Regions from separate parts of the Homo sapiens genome. Here region 1 is linked to region 2. Evidence: promoter capture Hi-C in human tissues and cell types (Jung and others, 2019). All regions are on one chromosome and are shown on one strand. Each heading gives the region's core, a stretch centred on a gene start or on the middle of the fragment in contact. The rest is flanking DNA. Distances are from core to core; before and after follow the strand shown.

What was found. The method cuts DNA at HindIII sites, captures the fragments that hold promoters and counts their contacts. A contact is called where the count stands out against the background at its distance.
Region 1: a contact is called between a fragment that was not itself captured here and the fragment with the promoter of LRRC38 in region 2, in 1 of the 25 tissues and cell types used here (spleen).

The regions. Positions count from the first base shown.
Region 1 is chr1:13,550,330-13,554,797 of GRCh38, forward strand. No RefSeq gene overlaps it. Among named protein-coding and RNA genes, the nearest start is that of PDPN, 31 kb to the right of the region's middle. The HindIII fragment of the contact is 3,082 bases long and covers 87-3,168 here.
Region 2 is chr1:13,511,482-13,515,624 of GRCh38, forward strand. It overlaps LRRC38 (leucine rich repeat containing 38), which reads right to left and starts at 2,522. Exons shown (of 2, transcript NM_001010847.2): 1 at 1,482-2,522. The coding sequence starts at 2,112. LOC107984918 (a long non-coding RNA gene) reads left to right here and starts at 1,739. Exons shown (of 3, transcript XR_001737896.2): 1 at 1,739-1,860; 2 at 2,810-3,063. The HindIII fragment of the contact is 3,544 bases long and covers 769-4,143 here.

The DNA.
Region 1 (4,468 bases), core at 378-2,877, 38 kb after region 2:
TTAAAGAAACTTCATATCTCTATAGTCAATGGAAAACCAGTATCACTTCCCATAATATAATGTAACCATAGGATAAAGATAATGCAAACAAAACAATTGTATTAAATTCTAGCTGGATACTGTTGCTGGTGCAGTATCCCTTAACAGGTGTTGAAGAGGTGTTTAAGACACAACACATAATTCACATAAGAACACATGATTCAGACTTTCTCCTTGATATGATTCAAAGATTAAAAATGAACTGAATTCCTCTTCGAGAAGTACGGCATATCAGTTCCTCTGAAGGCTCCTCCTCTGTAATATAACTAGGTCTCAGGAAAATTACAATAAACATAGTTTTATGCGCTGCTAGGCTTGTATGAAAATAAAGGCTCTCTAAGGTTGGTGGGGAGATGGGAGGAGAATACTAAATTGACAGTAGATTGGGAACAGTCAGCAAATGTAACCGGAGGAGACAGTGTGAGTACCAGCCCTGGAATCCGCACACTAAGCCTTGAGCTCTCTGTGAGATAGGGAAGCTAAATCTGAGACTCTTGCCTTAAGCCCTGATTCTTTCAAGGGAGCTTAAATGTATCCAGTGTGGTAACAGCCTCTGGCTCTTGAGAAAAGCAAACACAAATTCTCTCCGGAATAAAGCATCACCAATAAATGCTCCCAGGATCCCTACAGATTATGTTCAACCAATAAAAAAAACACACACACAATAAAAATTTCACAATAAAAAACATTACCAAACTTGCCAGGAAACAAGCTTCGCTGAGTGAGATCAACAGAATTAACTAAATACAGATTTAGAGTCATATAAATTTCTGATGCTGGAACTGTCAGATACAAAATATAAAGTATGAAGTGTTTACAGAAAAAAATATGTAACTAAAAACTGAACAAAGACCAAGAGACCATAAAAATTGATCAGGCAGATTGGAAAGAAACCACATAGAAATTTTAGAATCGAAAACTATAATCATTGAAACTCAATATATTTGTTAAGCATCAAATAAGAGAAAGATGAGTAAACTAAGAGATAGATCTGAAGAAATTATCCAGAAGGCAAAACAGAGACAAGCAGATGGAAAATATGAAAGATAAGGAAATTCCAATGAGAAAGCATTATACACACCACATTAAATTAGTTAATATATGTAAACACTCAGAATAGTGCCTGGCAATTAGTATCAACAAAGCCAAATGTTGGTTCTTTGACAAAATCAAGTGTTGGTTCTTCTGATGATAACAATTTAAAAACCTCTGGCAAGAAGAATCAAGAGAAAAAAAAAAAGACATTGCCCAAATAAACAAGATCTGGCATTAGCTGAGACAAAAAGATAAGCATATACTATAAACATTATGGTAATACATTGGAAAATATAGATGAAATAGGCAAGATAATAGAAAATGTCATTTACCAAAACTGACTAAAGGGGAAATAGAAAATTTGAACCATCATATAAACATTAAGGAAATTGAAGGTTGAATTAATAGTTAAAATTTGACTAAAAGTGCATATACCAATCCCAGGGATATTCACAAGGGAATTTTAACAAACTTTCAAAGAACAGAGGAATTGGAGGAAACATTCCCCAATTTATTCTATAAGGTGAATAAAACTTTTATATTAATGCCAAGCAAGAATAATACTAAAAAGGAAAATTGGTCGGGTGCAGTAGGCCACATCTGTAATCCCAACACTTTGGGAAGCAGAGGTGGGAGTATCACTTGAAGCCAGGCGTTCCAGACCACCTTGGGCAACATAGTGAGACCTTCATCTCTAGGGAAAAAAAAAAAAAAGTTTCTGAGCATGGTGGCACACTCTTGTAGTCCTAGCCTGGGAAGTTGAGGTTGCAGGGAGCCGAGACTGTGCCACTGTACTCCAGCCTGGGTGACAAAGCGAGACCCTGCCTCCAAAAAAAAAAAAAAAAAGAGTTTAGCAAAGTGGCTGCAAATAAGAGCTAAGGCAGGCAGATCACGAGGTCAGGAGTTCAAGACCAGCCTGGCCAACATGGTGAAACCCTGTCTCTACTAAAAATACAAAACAAAATAGCTGGGTGTAGTGGCATGTGCCTGTAATCTCAGCTACTCGGGAGGCTGAGGCAGGAGAATTGCTTGAACTCAGGAGACAGAGGTTGCGGTAAGCTGAGATCACGCCATTGTACTCCAGCCTGGGTGACAGAGCAAGGCTGTGTCTCGGGGAAAAAAAAAATCAATATACAAACATCAATTGTACTTTTATACACAGGCAACAAATGGAAATATTATTTTTGCCTAATCTCACATCAAGACTTATGATGAAGTTATGGTAAGTAAAACAGTATGATATTGATGCAGTTACAGACATAATAATCAATGCGCTGGGCGCGGCGGCTCACGCCTGTAATCCCAGCACTTTGGAAGGCCGAGGCAGGCGGATCACCAGGTCAGGAGACCGAGACCATTCTGGCTAACACGGTGAAACCCCGTCTCTACTAAAAATACAAAAAAAAAAAAATTATCCGGGCGTGGTGGCAGGCCCACATGTAGTCCCAGCTACTCGGGAGGCTGAGGCAGGAGAATGGCATGAACCCGGGAGGCGGAGCTTGCAGTGAGCCGAAATAGCGCCACTGCACTCCAGCCTGGGCAACAGAGCGAGAAGCCGTCTCAAAAAAAAAAAATTATAATCAATGCAACAGGCTAGACCCCCAATTATTTGCAAACCTTATACATGAAGGGGAGCTATATCAGTTCCATGAGTAAAAGATGTACTATGAAACTAATCTTGAGATAAATGGTTAGCCACCTGGGGTGGGGATGGGGGTGATTGAACCCTTACCTGACACCACATACAAAATCAATTTCGAGTGGATTAACAACTTAAAAGTAGGACATAAAAGTTTAAAACTTCATAATAAAATATGAAAGAATATTTTTGTGACCTAGAGATAAGGTAAGAGTTTTTTACACGACTTAAAAGAAAAACTTGGCACATTGAGTTACATTAAAATTAACCATTTCTGTTCATCAAAAGATACCATAAAGAAACTGAAAAACAAGTCATAAATTGGGGGTATATTTGCATACACATAACCACGAATAAGTGGCAGCATATAAAGGATATAGACATGTATTAACTTTGACAAATCAATAATAAAAAGACAGTCTAGGAACAAAACGGACAAAAGATATGAGCAGACCTTTCAATGAGAAAATGCATATGGTGGATAAACATATGGAACGATAACCAATCTCACTAGTAGTTGTACTAATTTGCATTTAGCACCCAAATGAACTGTACTATTTTACACCCTCTAGGTCTGCATAGTGCAGGAATTAAGAGCACAGACTCCGGAACCAAATCCTGGCTCCTCCACGGCCTTGGGAAGGTAGCAACATCTCCATACATGCCTCAGTTTTCTCTATGGAGAAAGGAATATTAACCCAGTAAAATCCGATTGGAAGTTGGCTACCATTATTCCCCCTGCTCCTGTTTCCATTCTGTCAACTTCAAATAGTGCTACCTAGTATCTTAAACGATTGGATATTTTGGACTTCATTTATAGGATTATGGCAGGATTTGGCTGTGGTAACTAATTCATAAGTATTGTAGGAAAATTAATATATATGAAACTATGTCACAGTCATTCTCTACCCCAGTGGGCTTCACATTTTTATTCTGCTTACATATATTTAAAAATAATCTTGAAAAATGATGTACCCTCTCTGCACACTTTAAAACTTAGATTTAAAATTCCTCAGCACGGCCAGGCACGGTGGCTCATGCCTGTAATCCCAGCACTTTGGGAGGCCAAGGCAGGCGAATCACAAGGTCAGGAGTTGGAGACCAGCCTGCCAATATGGTGAAACCCTGTCTCTACTAAAAATACAAAAAAAATTAGCCGGGCGTGATGGCAGGCCCCTGTAGACCCAGCTACTAGGGAGGCTGAGGCAGGAGAATAGCTTGAACCCGGGAGGCAGAGGTTGCAGTGAGCCAAGATGGCGCCATTGCACTCCAGGCTAGGCGAGAGAGCAAGACTCTGTCTCAAAAAAAAAAAAAAATTCCTCAGCACAAGTTCAAATAGTTGCACAAGATACAATTTTACACCCAGCATAGTGTAAATGTTGACCTTTTAAAATAAATGATTACATTACTCTTTTAAATGCACCCAACAGAATCTGAAAATCTGCAATTAATGCCCTTAAAAATATGGATATTGATTTTAAAAATCATATATGATGAAAAAAAATTTTTTTTTTTTTGAGACGAAGTCTAGTTCTGTCGCCCAGGCTGGAGTGTAGTGGCTTGATCTTGTCTCACTGCAACCTCCACCTCCCGGGTTCAAGCGATTATTCTGCCTCAGCCTCCTGAGTAGCTGGGATTACAGGTATGCACCACCACGCCCGGCTAATTTTTTGTATTTTTAGTAGAGACAGGGATTCACCATGTTGATCAGGCTGGTCGCGAACTCCTGACCTCGTGATCTGCCCGCCTCAGCCT
Region 2 (4,143 bases), core at 1,272-3,771:
ATGGCAGAACTGAGACAAACCCACAGCTCCTGACTTCATAAAACCTTGCCTTCACCTGGAAGACAACTGGAGCCAATAAACCAACCCAACCAACAACAGGGGTGAATGGTGCCAACCCCACTGAAAAGGAAAGGCAGAAGCAAGCAGAACCGAGGTGTACCCCATCCCACCATGAGCTTTTCATCCGGTCACTCCTGTCTCCAGGACCGAGTCTACTGGTGGGCAGGGTCTGGGAAACCAGACAAGTGGATGAGGACAAAGTTTAAAGGTGGGGACTCTGCACCCTGCAGGCCAGATCGTTTTAGGAATTTCAGCCAGCCTGGGCTGAAAGTGATGGCTCAGGGGCCTGCATTTGCTGAAGAGTGAGCACCCCGAAGCATGGGGTGTGTTTGATGACAGTTGGGAATGAAGATATGAATGCAGGAGTTCAGCACACAGATGAACAGCATCCTTGATTTCTCCGTAAATGGAAAAAAAAATATTCTGAAGCTAAATCTGCATGTATGTCACCTTTGATGATGTGCGCCTTGCAGCTGTGGTCCCAATTCTGCTGAAATCTTGGGAGCAAGGCAGGAGGCAGAGTTCAGCTCTGAGAGGTCACTGCGGGCACTGGTGCTCACAGGGTCACAAGTGGGAGGCTGGAATCCACTTGGGGGAAGGACACCCACCTGCCACCTGCCTCCTCACTCTGGGTGCTCATCCCTGTGGATGCTGGGGTCCCCTCCTTCTCAGCTCCACCCGTGCTCCCTTCCTGCGGGCCTTAATGGAGCCCCTTAACTCCCTCCGCCCTGGTGTTCCCATCTGCCAAGTGAGTTTTTATGCCCACGCCGCCATTGGAAGCGTGCACCAGGAAAGCAAAGGGGGCACCAGCCCTCTACATTTTGGTTCAGCTTTTTCACATCTGGCTGAAAAGCCACAGAGAACTACAAATCATTACTGCATCATTGGCTCTTAATGGGCTGCCATTATTCCACATCAGAAATCTTCCTCACCCATATTAGACAGAAGAGCAAACTGGAGCTGAGAAGCTGAGAGGCCAGGTTAGGCTCGGGAAGCTGCTGGAGAGCCCTTGGAACTGGCTGACTCCCCGTGCACGGTACTGAGAATACGGCCGTTTCCCATAGAGTAGGCTGCATTCCGCTTACCAGGGACGCATAAGTAATCCACACCCGCCAGTCCTAGGACCCAAAGCCCAGGGAGATGATCCTGGGCATCCCGAGAAGGGGAAGGTCCCTAACTTGGTAAAGTGAGTTACTGGAGAAACAGGGGAAGAAGTACAGCCTCAGGGTTCAGAAACTCCAAAGAATTCCAGATGCGTCCCTCTCCACCCACTTCCCCAGCAGAGACCCAGGAAAAGTTCAGGATCCCCCAAGCCTCCTCTTCCAAACTCAACCCACGGCTCCTCCCACCCAGACTGGGGTCTGGGGTGGCCTCTCCCTGCCCCCCTCCCTCCCTCCCCCAGCCTAGCCGGCTCGGCTCACCTTTGGGCAGTTTGGATGCGTTCTCCTGGATCCAGGAGAAGAGGTGGGCGAAGTCACAGTCGCACAGCCAGGGGTTCCCGTCCAGACGCAGGGAGCGCAGCGCGGGCAGCGCGGCCAGGGCGGCCACGCTGAGGCTGCGCAGGTTGTTGTCGTTGAGCTCCAGCACCTGCAGCGACTCCAGGGTCTCGAAGGCGTCCTCGTGCACGCCCACCAGGTTGTTGTTAGCCAGGCTAAGCTTCACCAGCCTCCCGGCCGAGCGGAAGGCGCCGGCGCCCAGCTGGGTCAAGTTGTTGTAGCTGAGGTCGAGGAACACGAGCTTGGCCGAGCCGCTGAACGTGCCCTCCTCCAGCGAGCGCAGCGAGTTGTTCCTGAAGTCCAGGTAGACCAGGTCGCCGTAGAAGATGAAGAAGTCCTCGGGGATCCGCTGGATGCGGTTGCCGGCCACCAGCAGCTTGCGCACGTCCAGGGGGAAAGGGTCTGGCACGCTGGGCAGCCCGCGGTCGCGGCAGTCCACGGTGTGCGGGTCGGTGCAGGCGCAGCCCGCGGGGCACGCGTGCCCGGGCGCGAGCAGCAGCAGAAGGCTGCAGAGCCCGAGCGCCGCGGCGGCGCAGGCTGGGGCTCGGGGGCGCATGGCCGGGGGGCCCGCGCCGGCCGCGGCGAGAAGGAAGCGGCTCTCGGAGCGAGCCCTGGCGCGGGACGGCGCGGTGAGGCACTGGCTGCCGGGCGCGGGGAGCCAGAGGGCGGCCCGGGCGGGGAGGGCGTGCGCCCGGGCGTGCGGGGGCGATGGAGCGCGGCGCGGACGGACTGGGGAGCCGGGACAGCAGGGATGGAGAGGGGAGGGGCGGGGAGGGAGGGGCGAGGGACTCACCAAAGGGTTTACCCGGACAGGAAATTAACCCGCTAGAAAAATCTCTTGGGAGAGGCGGGAGCGGCAGGGGTGGCCGAGTGGCCGTCGCCAAAACGCGGCCCCACCCTGGCAGCTGATTTCCGAGATCTGGCAGTAAGACGCCGCGCGCACCGGGCGGGCTGCACTCGACGTCTAAGTTCAGCTACCAAGCCCAGGAGCGGTTTCCCTAAGGCGTGTCCCGGGCGTGCGCCCTGCCCCCTCGCGCCCGCCTGGTGCCAAAGCACGCTCCCTGCACGCCACCCTATGTCGCCAAAGGGAGTGGGACCTGGGTCACTCTGACTCTGCTCCGGGGGCAATCCCTGCAGGTTCTCGGGTGCCGCGCCAGGGTCTGCTGGTCTGAATTTGGGCGGGGTTCCAAGGGGAGAGAGTGAGTGACTGGTCTTCCCTCTTCCCTCCCCCACCTGCACTTGAACCATCTTAGGCTGGAGGGTGAGCGAGGCAAGTGGCTGCCAGGGCCCCCGCTGTGGCCTGCAGGGCCAGTCAGCACTTTCCATGCCGGCCCCGAACTTCTGGATGGAACTGGCATCCATGCAAGGATCAGCTGCTGGTCTGAGAGGTCCAGCTGCTGAGGCTCTGAGGCCTGGAGTCACCAGGCCTGGCTTCCAAGCTGTGTGGCCTCAGACCAGTACCTCTGCCTCTGTGGACCTGGTAGCTCCATTTGTGAAATGGAAAAAGGTAATATATATCTCATCAGCTTTGGGGGAGGACCAAGAAGTCAAGAACAAAGTTCAAAAATTATCTTTTCCTCTCTCCCCCTCAAAACCCCACCTTGGATAGCCTAGGGAGGCAGTCAGGAACGTGCCAAGGCTGAGATGAAAGGACAGTGAGGAAATGCTGATGTCAGCCTCTGACACTGGCAGGAAAATTCCCTCTTCACCACCCCGATGCCAAACTCCTTTCTTTCTGTCCCACCTCATTCTAGAAACTTCTATATGGGGAGGGGTCCCCACAGAGCTACCAAGAGATTGTCCCGCTGTTGGCTATTTTGGTCCAAATGCCCTAGAATTGACAGACTCCCACTAGACCAAAATAACCCAGGGAACAGCTGTTGGGCAGCAGGCTCCCAGAGACCCTTCCCTGGCCCCTGGCCATGCTGGGGATTGGTGGAGCCTCGGATTCTGAAGCCATAAAGCTAAGCCCTCGGCCTTCTTCCAAAGGTACAGGCCGACTTGATGCCTCTGAGCCATGGGATGAAAAAACTGATCCCCTGGGATGGAGCCAAGGGCTCAACAGATGAGCATATTTGCAGGAGCCCTGGGGAAGAGGCGGGGGAGACCCAGGGGGAAGCTTTGAGGCACCTGGAGTCCTGCAGCTTTTCCCCTACTTACATTCCAGGCCACTAAGCCAGACCTCCCTCAGTTCTCCGTCTCTGTCTCCACTCTCCCAGGGTGCCCAATTTGCCATTGCCATCCCCAACTTCAAGGGCTCAGCTTCCCCACCCCAGTCTCATGCTCTTGAAGAGGCAGGTGTCGGGAGGAGTGGTCTGAATGCTCCCAGAGTGGATGAAAATGCTTCTGCCTACATAAATGATGTATAAATTATTGAAGAGTCACACAAAGTGCAGGCAGGTGGCAGAATAAACACATCTCCCACCCTTGCAACTCTGCAAAAGCAGCCTGAACCGAACTGTTGCACTCTGCCAATCTCAGGCTTGGTTCTGCCTGCTCCCTCCTGTACTGAGGGGAACCTATTACTGGTTTGAGCCCTTAGCATCATGGTTTCATGACACCCGCATTTGGTTGGGCTGCCATCTTG